Linked DNA regions of Homo sapiens: region 2 is linked to region 1. Evidence: promoter capture Hi-C in 16 types of primary human blood cells and fetal thymus (Javierre and others, 2016). All regions are on one chromosome and are shown on one strand. Each heading gives the region's core, a stretch centred on a gene start or on the middle of the fragment in contact. The rest is flanking DNA. Distances are from core to core; before and after follow the strand shown.

Evidence for each region. The method cuts DNA at HindIII sites, captures the fragments that hold promoters and counts their contacts. A CHiCAGO score of 5 or more calls a contact.
Region 2: a fragment that was not itself captured here is called in contact with the fragment with the promoter of DNAJC11 in region 1 in 1 of 17 cell types (monocytes); the score reaches 6.4 in monocytes.

The regions. Positions count from the first base shown.
Region 1 is chr1:6,700,331-6,705,100 of GRCh38, forward strand. It overlaps DNAJC11 (DnaJ heat shock protein family (Hsp40) member C11), which reads right to left and starts at 1,486. Exons shown (of 16, transcript NM_018198.4): 1 at 1,399-1,486. The coding sequence starts at 1,470. RefSeq lists a silencer at 1,273-1,722. The HindIII fragment of the contact is 16,969 bases long and covers 1-2,997 here.
Region 2 is chr1:6,797,994-6,803,038 of GRCh38, forward strand. All of the region lies in intron 1 of CAMTA1 (calmodulin binding transcription activator 1), which reads left to right. Among named protein-coding and RNA genes, the nearest start is that of CAMTA1, 15 kb to the left of the region's middle. The HindIII fragment of the contact is 730 bases long and covers 2,981-3,710 here.

The DNA of each region.
Region 1 (4,770 bases), core at 236-2,735:
CATACGCACCCAGGTGATTAAAAAGGTTTATTGCTCACACAAAGCCTGTTTGGTGGTCTCTTCACACGGACGCGCGTGACACTCAAGGATACAGTACCAGAACTAGCAGCTTTGTAGTCCAAGGACTGGTAAGGTAAGGTGACAGACTAGCATGGAGCTCACAAGCTGGGCTCCAGAGTCAGACTGCCTGGGTTGAGTTCAGGCTCTTGCACTTTCTAGTAGTGTGACTTTAGACACACTACTTAATCTCTCTATGCCTTGGTTTCCTCAAGTGTAAATCAAGGGCTATCATAATACTTACCTTAAGAGCTATCCTCAGAATTAAATGAGATAACAGTACAAAGTTCATTCAGCATAGTGGTCCCACACAAGATAAGTTTGTATTATTAACATCACATAGACTAATATTTACTGACAACACACACTGAACCCGCTTTGGTTAGCATAGCCAAACTTGGCTAGCTTTCATTACCACTGGAAAACCTGAGAGATGGAATTAGGAATTCTCTGGCAGGGCTGAAAAGTCTGGACCCATCGGCTTAAAGAAACTGATCCACCTCATGACCTGACCCTGGAAGCCTTCTCGCCCTTCACACCTATCTCAACTCCAGACTAGTCAAGAACAAAGGAGTGTAGTGGGGCCCTACTACTGCCAGGCTATGTGAGACTCTCTCATGTTATCTTTTATTCGTTGAGGAGACAGGGTACAAGTGCTTGGTGTGAATGTTGAAGCTGTTGTTAGGGCACCACTTTTCTGGCCTAGGGCTTCTTCCTAATCTGCAGCCTCCGAGCCGAGGGTCTGTGTCCCGGAGGCTCTGCCTGCAATTTCTGGACATCGGGTCCAGGGGAATGAAAGAGGGCATGAGACGCATGCCTCTGAGGCTGGACCCACTTCAGAGGCAGAGCGTCCCCACGAAAGACTCGGGAACCGGAAAAAGCCCTAAGGACGTTCCCTAGTGGCCTTGACCTTGGTGGGTGAGACTCAGTTCGCCATCCTGCTGGCGGCGGGCGATGACACAGCCCCTCAGCCAGGACGAGTATGTGGGCTGAGCGCGAGACGGGGTCTCGGAGGACTGCTAACCCCACTACGGTGGCCTCCTCGGGGCCCCCGTTTCCTCTTGAGCGTGCGGGGGCCTCTGGCCCTACCCGGACACAGTGCACGCGGCGCACTGGCCTTCAGGAGCTGGGGCGGAGGCTGGCCCCGGAACCCCCGGCGGGAGGGTCTGGGCGGTGGGGACGCCTCCATCGGGCGGCTGGCGTGCACGTCGCCGGGGTCACGCGGCCTCCCCGACGGACCCGAGCCTCCCGTGGCGGGGGTGGGGCGGCCACCGCCAGCCCGGCCCTCCCGAACGACCGGGCTCGGCCTCAGCCCCCAGAGCGTCCAGCCGCTGGCCTCACCTCCCTGCGCACGTTCAGCAACGAGTAATAGTCTTCATTGTCCAGCTCCTCCTCGCTCAAGGCCGTCGCCATCTTCGCAACCTTTCACCCCGCCAAACCGGCAAGGCCGTGCTCAAGAGGGGCCAGTGATCCGCGTCAGGGACAGCGCGGGCCAGCCCGGCTGCGCCACAGCGGCCCCTGGCGGCCCGGAGCCGTCCGCGCCCGGCGGGAGTGCGCCTGCGCTTTGCGCCCCCGCGCGGCCTAGGGCGGGACGCGGCGCCTAGGCAGCCCTGGCGGGGTGACCACGCGGGTGTCTCTTCGTGCTCCCAATGGACGCGTGGCACGCGGCGTGGCTGCGTCCTCGGGGGCCTGAGATCCAGCCAGGACTCCCTAGGGCTTTTCCTGTACTAGAAAGGGAAACTTTGCTTTTTTTTTTTTTTTTTGAGACGGAGTCATACTCTGTCGCCCAGCCTGGTGTGTGTGCAGTGGCGCAATCCCGGCTCACTGAAGCCTCCACCTCCCGGGTTCAAGCGATTCTCCTGCCTCAGCCTCCCGAGTAGCTGGGACTCCAGGCGCGCGCCACCACGCCCAGTTAATTTTTTTGTATTTTTGGTAGAGACACGGTTTCACCATGTTGGCCAGGCTGGTCTGAGGCTCCTGAACTCAGGAGATCCTCGGCCTCCCAAAGTGCTGGGATTACAGGCATGAGCCACCGCGTCCTGCCTAGAAAGGGAAACTTTGAAGTCACCTCCAGGAGATTGTCATCCTCTGGGAGACAAACCCCTGTGATACCACCTGTTACCCCACTGGCCCCAAACTCCTGGAAGAAGCGCGAGGTGCCCCCAGTGCAGGGTGCATCCGGATCCTAGATATCCCCCAAATGACATTTGTTCCTACCTCCATTGTCTTTTCTCTTGGCCACCCAGAAGCCTTCCTGCCCAGAACAGGCCTCCTCATTTTAGTTATTTGTTATTGCTCTAATTTAGGAGCACCTGGCCATCTTTTCTGCTGCTTAAATGACAAAGCAATAACTATTTGGTTCCTGATATAATTGTCTCTGGCAGGCATGTGTACCTGCAGTCCCTACCCCAGAGCCATTCTCCTGTAAATTTCTCCCTTATAATTTATCGGTGGAGTCTAATTGATTTCAACCTGGTGCCTGCTGTTTGGTGCATTATTAAAGATGTCTTGGTTACAACAATCTAAATAATTTAAAGGTCTTCGAAATGACGCCATTGTCAAGGGAAGGTGGACAGCAGCCCACTCTTGCCACCTGTTTGGTTCCCGCTGACCTGCGCAAGTCTCAGAAACCTTTGTTGTTCCTTCACTAACCACCAGTCCATAGCCATCCCCGTTGCCCTTCATAAGCAGGTCTCCTGGGAAGCCCCGAACACCTGTCTGTGGATTTGAGAGGCTGATTTCTTTCTCTTTCTAATTTTTGGCCAGATGTGCACCATCTGGGCCTGTGTCTCATCCCTTCCAAGTTGCCCAGCCCTCTTAGGATCTTTTGGCATGAGACACTTCGGTGTGCTGAGACAGATTGTTCGGGTGGGTTGAGTCAGCCTGAAACAAACTGTCAGCCCAGGTTGTAAATTAAGGGCTATTTCTTTAGTTGTGTGAAGCTTCTCCACAACAGCTTCCATGGTCCATCAGCTCTTCCAGCAATGTTATGGGCTTTGCCTTTTTCTCCTTTGCAGAGAAAAGAGCTGTGGTTAGGGCCAAACTGCATGCTGACATTTGACAGTCTTTAAGAATTTCTTTCTTTTTTTTTTTTTTTGTTTGAGACAGAGTCTCACTCGGTCGCCCAGGCTGGAGTGCAGTGCCACGATCTTGGCTCACTGCAACCTCCGCCTCCCGGGTTCAAGCGATTCTCCTGCCTCAGCCTCCCAAGCAGCTGGGACTACAGGCGTGCGCCATCACGCCCAGCTAATTTTTGTATTTTTAGTAGAGACGGGGTTTCACCATATTGGCCAGGCTGGTCTCGAACTCCTGACCTCGTGATCCACCTGCCTCGGCCTCCCAAAGTGCTGGGATTACAGGCGTGAGCCACCGCACCCGGCCAAGAATTTCATACAGAGAGACTGGGGGTAAAAACAACAATGTGGAGACATTCCTTTTTCCCTTAGGTTTTTTTTTCTTTTTTCTTTTTTCTTTTTTTTTTGAGATGGAGTCTCGCTCTGTCGCCCAGGCTGGAGTGCAGTGGCACGATCTCGGCTCACTGCAAGCTCCACCTCCCGGGTTCATGCCATTCTCCTGCCTCAGCCTACTGAGTAGCTGGGACTACAGGCGCCTGCCACCACGCCTGGCTAATTTTTTTTTTTTGTATTTTTAATAGAGATGGGGTTTCACCATGTTAGCCAGGATGGTCTTGGTCTCCTGACCTAGTAATCCACCTGCCTCGGCCTCCCAAAGTGCTGGGATTACAGGCGTGAGCCACCGCGCCCGGCCTCCTTAGGTTTGTAGACATTAATTGGGCCATAATGCTTACTTGGGTAGAGAAGTTCTTTGCCATCCCTCCTCTGCTTTGGAAAACACAGCCTCTAGGAATTATATAAATGGAACATAACATATGTTTCACTACGCCCAGGTCTGTGTTTCTATGATTGAGAATGACCTGGTTTTTATCACCACTCAAACAAGATAAATAGTGACTCAGGAATGCTCTGTGGCTGTCCTCTCTTGGGCCCACGAGATTTTGTGTTATGGTTACTTGGAAAGTGGTGGTGATAAATAGAAAGCTAACTTAGATGCTCCACAGGCTTGAGGAATGTATCTGTTTCTGAGGCTGGCTCTCTCGTTTCTCTCCTCCAAAACCCTAATCTTCAACGGGCAAAATAATGGAAACCAAAGGCAGTACAAATTTATAAGTTAAAAACGCACATCCAACAAACTACTTACGCCGAGCAACTGACAAAACCCAGCTGCTTTAACTCATGCCTTGCACTTTGTTTTCTTTTTCTTTTCTCTTTCTTTTTTTTTTTTTTGAGACGGGGTCTCCCTCTGTCACCCAGGCTGCAGTACAGTGGTGCAATCATGGCTTGCTGCAGCCTCCACCTCTTCAAGCTTAGGTAATTCTCCCACCTCAGCCTCCATAGTAGCTAGGACTACAGGTGCCCGCCACCATACCTGGTTAAGCTTTGTATTTTTTGTAGAGACAGGGTCTTGCTACATTGCAGGGCTGGTCTGGAACTCCCGTCTCAAGTGATCTGCCCGCCTCAGCCTCTCAAAGTGCTGAGATGACAGGTGTGAGCCACCGTGCCTGGCCTTTTGGTTTCTTTTTGTTGGGTGAAACCACAAAACAGTCTGTAACATAGCTGTAAAGCAAAACTTAATAGGTGACATTTAAATATAAACTGATGTAATATATTTATGTAACTATACATACATGGGCAT
Region 2 (5,045 bases), core at 2,096-4,595, 100 kb after region 1:
GAATTTTTTTTTTTTTTTTTGAGACAAAGTCTTGCTCTTGTCCCCCAGGCTGCAGTGCGATGGCGCGATCTTGGTTCATTGCAACCTCCGCCGCCTTGGTTCAAGCGATTCTCCTGCCTCGCCCCCCAAGTAGCTAGGATTACAGGTGCTGAACACCACGCTGGGCTAATTTTTGTATTTTTAGTTGAGACACCATGTTGGCCAGGCTGGTCTTGAACTCCTGACCTCAGGTGATTCACCCACCTCGGCCTCCCAAAGTGCTGGGATTACAGGTGTGAGCTACCGCACCCAGCCTAAAAAAGGAATATTTAATGGTAGAGGGCTCTGTAAAAACCCCCTAATTTTCAAAGCCATGTGCCACTGTAGAATTTATGAAAAGTTATGGGCTATTATTATTAGGTTTCAAAAAGTCTGGAATACTGGCGGTAGCATCAGAATTATTTATTTATTTATCTTTTGAGACAGAGTCTATCTCTGTCGCCCAGGCTAGAGTGCAGTGATGCAAGCTCCACTTCTCGAGTTCACGCCATTCTCCTGCCTCAGCCTCTTGGGTAGCTGGGACCACAGGCGCCCACCACCACACCTGGCTAATTTTTTTTTTTTTTTTTTTTTTTGAGACGGAGTCTCGCTCTGTCGCCCAGGCCGGACTGCGGACTGCAGTGGCGCAATCTCGGCTCACTGCAAGCTCCGCTTCCCGGGTTCACGCCATTCTCCTGCCTCAGCCTCCCGAGTAGCTGGGACTACAGGCGCCCGCCACCGCGCCCGGCTAATTTTTTGTATTTTTAGTAGAGACGGGGTTTCACCTTGTTAGCCAGGATGGTCTCTATCTCCTGACCTCATGATCCGTCCGCCTCTGCCTCCCAAAGTGCTCGGATTACAGACGTTAGCCTCCACCTCCACGCCTGGCTAAAGCGTTATCATTTTTATCTAACCCTGAACCAATCAGTGATTGGTTAGTTCTCTAGCTGTGAAGGCTTTGCACTTCCTAGACAGCTTGTAGAACAAGCCCACTTGGATTCCCAGCTCAAACTCTTTCCTTTTTACTATTTATTTATTATTTATTTATTCGTTACTTATTATTAATTAAAAAAATTTTTTAGAGACAAGAGTCTTGATCTGTCACCCAGGCTAGAGTGCCATCACAGCTCACTGCAACCTTGAACTCTTGGGTTCAAGTGATCCTCCTGCCTCAGCCTCCTGAGTAGTGAGGACTACGGGCGTGTGCCACCACACCCGGCTAATTCTTTTTTAATTTTATGGAGAAAGGGTCTTGCTATGTTGCGCAGGCTTGTCTTGTACTCCTGGCCTCAAGCAGTCATCCTGTCTCAGCCTCCCAAAGTGCCAGGCTTACAGGCATGAGCCGCTGTGCCTGGCTTGTACTCTTTCACTAGCTGGGAATGCTGGTGAGCAGGACTCAAGGATCCCAGCAGAGCTGCATCCTGTGCTGTCTTTGCTGCCACTTAGGTGGACCAGGAGCTAGAAGCCTTTCTCTCCATGGCCTCCATACCTTCTTTTACCAGATGGTATTTCTGCATTTATCACTCTTGATTCCAGCACAGCTTTTCCTCATCTTGCTTTTCTCAGACCTCAGCTCTTATGTAATGAGATAGTTGGTAGTCATTTTGAGGGGATTCATGTGTTGGGTAAAGGGTTTTCCTAGCGATGACCTCGAAAGTTCCTTCCCATTAATAATAATTACTATTAATAATTAATAGCAATAACTAATGATAAAACAGAACAGTTGCAGCAATATACTGTAATAAAAGTTGTGTGAATGTGGTCTCTCTCTCTCTCTGATTATCTTATTGTACCATACTCACCTATTTTTGGACCTTAGTTGACCGCTTGTAACTGAAACCATGGATAAGAGGGGGACTATTGTGTAAGGAAATGAAGTCGGAGATATGGAATTTCATTTCAGGGCTTGCTTTCCTGATATTCAGCTATTCTGTATAACTGTATCTTTTCCTTTTGAGGTCCTTGCTCCAGGACAAGAATAATATGTTGACTCAAGCTGTATGGGGGGATTTGAACTACAGACACTCAGATATCTCCTTTCTGAGGTACATAGAGGGCTTAATTTTTTAGGTCTGTCTGTTTAATATACTATATTTACTTTAAAAAACGTAGGCCGGGTGCTGTGGCTCGGTGCCTATAATCTAAGCACTTTGGGAGGCCGAGACGGGAGGATTGCTTTAGCCCTGGAGTTCGAGACCAGCCTGGGCAACATAGTGAGACCTTGTCTCTACTAAAAATAGAAAAAATTAGCCAGATGTGTTGGTGTGCGCCTGTGATCCCAGGTACCTGGGAGGCTGAGGTTGGAGGATTACTTGAGCCCTTGAGGTCAAGGCTGCAGTGAGCTACGATCACGCCACTGCACTCCAGTCTGGATGACAGAGTGAGATCCTGTCTCAAAACAAACAAAATGTAAAAAAATTTAAATTTATTAAAAAAGATGTACAACACCAAAATGTTCATAGTTATTCTGTATGACAGATCTGAGGTCTTTGTTCAGACATAGATGAGGGTTCATAGTTTTGGAAAATAGACTTAAATAATATATGATTACAGATGAAAAATATTTGCTAACCTCAGACTTTTTATGTTTAAGGTAGTATTTATATTCATTTAGTTGTACTTTCTGGAGTTGATTAATATAACTGTTATTAAAATCTATCGATTCCCAGTAATTCAGTAAATGAAGACTCTTCCTATTTAGAAACTCGTGTGGATTGGGGAGTTGCTGTGGGCCCACTGTCATTGATCATATCACATCTTCACTTGAACCTGCTCCCTGGGCCTCCTATAGGCCTCGCGTTTGGAGAGGCCGTGAACATAATTTATTTTTGGAAGTTTCTTTCATTTTTAAAGATACTGAGAGGCAAGTTGAAGTTCCTGGTGTTCGTGTAAACATTCCCTGCCTTATCCTTTCCATCTCAGCCATTATGAAATGTTCTGGCTGAATCATTTGCTTTCACAAAGCTTTGATGAAAGTTTCTTCCTCATTTGGTTTTCTTGATAGAGGCTGTTGTGCTAAAAAGAAAGCTATAACAAGTTAGAAGGGTGGAGAGTGGGCACTTAACATTTTTGAAGTACTTGTCTTTCTTCCTAGGGGTCCTCCAGAAATTGATCATAGATAACTTGACCAAATTCAAGGCCCAGAGATTTCTTCCAGGCATTCTGGGAGGGAAGGAACATCAGGCTTTCTGTACTGAATCTAATTATTCTAAATATTTCCCACTGCAGCTTGTATGAGTGTTTTCTGATGCAAATATGGTGATAGTGGCGACCTCTCTAACTGGGCTAAATATCCTTGACAGCTTTTTATCTGTCCTCTCCAAGTATTTTTAGTCTCTTTAGCTTCTGTGGCCATGTCTGGAGGAACTGAGGATGGATTTAGCTGCTCTGGTGCTGCTCCAAGTTGTTGTGGGTGCTCTTTGCTACCTTCGTCACTGTCCTGCCACAGTCCTGCCACTGATGAGGCTCCTGGCCCTTGTCATTTGATGAGGGAACATAAACACTTGTTTAATAAAAATAAAAAAGTCATGATTTTCAGAATGCTTTGAAAATAAGCTATGGCTAATGGTGATACACAATAGGAATGTCCCTAATTTCACTAAATTGTATGCTCAAAAAGGGTTAAAGTGGTAAATTTTATGTTATGCATATTTTGCCACAATTAAAAAAATAAAAACTTCAAATGGATTTGAAGCTTAATGAGAAAACTAGTTATAATGTCCTAACAGTAAATATATGGCCAATATTTTCATGACCCCAAGGTGGGAGGCTGTGCCTTAAATAAACTGTCAGAATCACACATTAAAAAAAAAAAAAAGTGATGGTAATCAGGCCCTGAGGTTCATTTATACAGAAAGTGATTTTTAGGTGAGATTTTAATATTTGCAATATTTATATTTGTAAAGAGGATTGGCTAGCTCATTCAGAAAAGTCTGAGGTTCTTAATAAACACTAGGAAACAGATGGTTTGGGGTTGATGTCAGGGAAGGTAAGCAGGCCGTGCTTTAGATTAGAGCACTTTTGATTGCAAGTCCCATGAGCCACACAGTTTAGGCCAAGTGAAAGCAGTTTTAGTCTAAGAAGAGCAGAAGCAATCGTAGCCTCTCGGGACAGAAACTGAAGTGCAGCTGGGCAGTGGGAACTGGATCTGGAGAGTCTGGAGTACATGTCTTCTCTGGAGCTGGGCTTTTTCCATTCACATGTAGCTTCCTTGCTTGAGTTACATGTAGTGGCCTTAGTCATGGCTCCTGCATGTCCTGACTCTAGTTCCAGTACTCATCATCATCTGACTCCCATTTCTATGGCTCAGTACAAAAATATTCAAGACTGGGTATTGGACTGACTCCTCTCAGCCATTTGCTTTGTTTCCATAGGCCAGGTGATCATCTCACTCTGGTCGACTATGAAAGAAGGTTGGTTAGATCCAGCAGCCTGCTGATCATTTAGAGGGTCTTAGAGTGAGAGGAGATTGTGTGAGAAGCTGGTTATCATAGCAGGGGGTCCTGGCACCTCAAACTCTGTCCCCATCAAACAGTGTAAAAGAAAAGATATTGACTCCTAAAGGAGTGTCTTATGTTCAGATGCTATAGAGTTTTGCAGAGAAAGTGTTCAGTGTAGCTACAGATAGAAGGCCAAGTGTCCTTGGTCAGCCAGCCTGGGTGTGTGTGGAGTAAGTTAGTGGTAGGTGTAGTAACTGTCTCAAAGCTTTTTCTTTGTCTCTCTCTCTCTCTTTTTTTTTTTTGAGACAAGGTCTTATTCTGTCGCCCAGGCTGGAGTGCAGTAGCACAATTTCAGCTCACTGAAGCCTCGACAGCCTGGGCTCAAGTGATCCTCCCACCTCAGCCCCCCAAGCTGAGGACTTAGCTGGAAAACACAGGCATATGCCACAACGCCCGGCTGATTTTTATGTTTTTAGTAGAGACAGGGGTTTCATTATGTTGCCTAGGCTGGTCTTGAACTCTTGGCCAGCTCAAGCAATCCACCTGCCTCAGTCTCTCAAAGGGCTGGGATTACAGGCGTGAGCCACC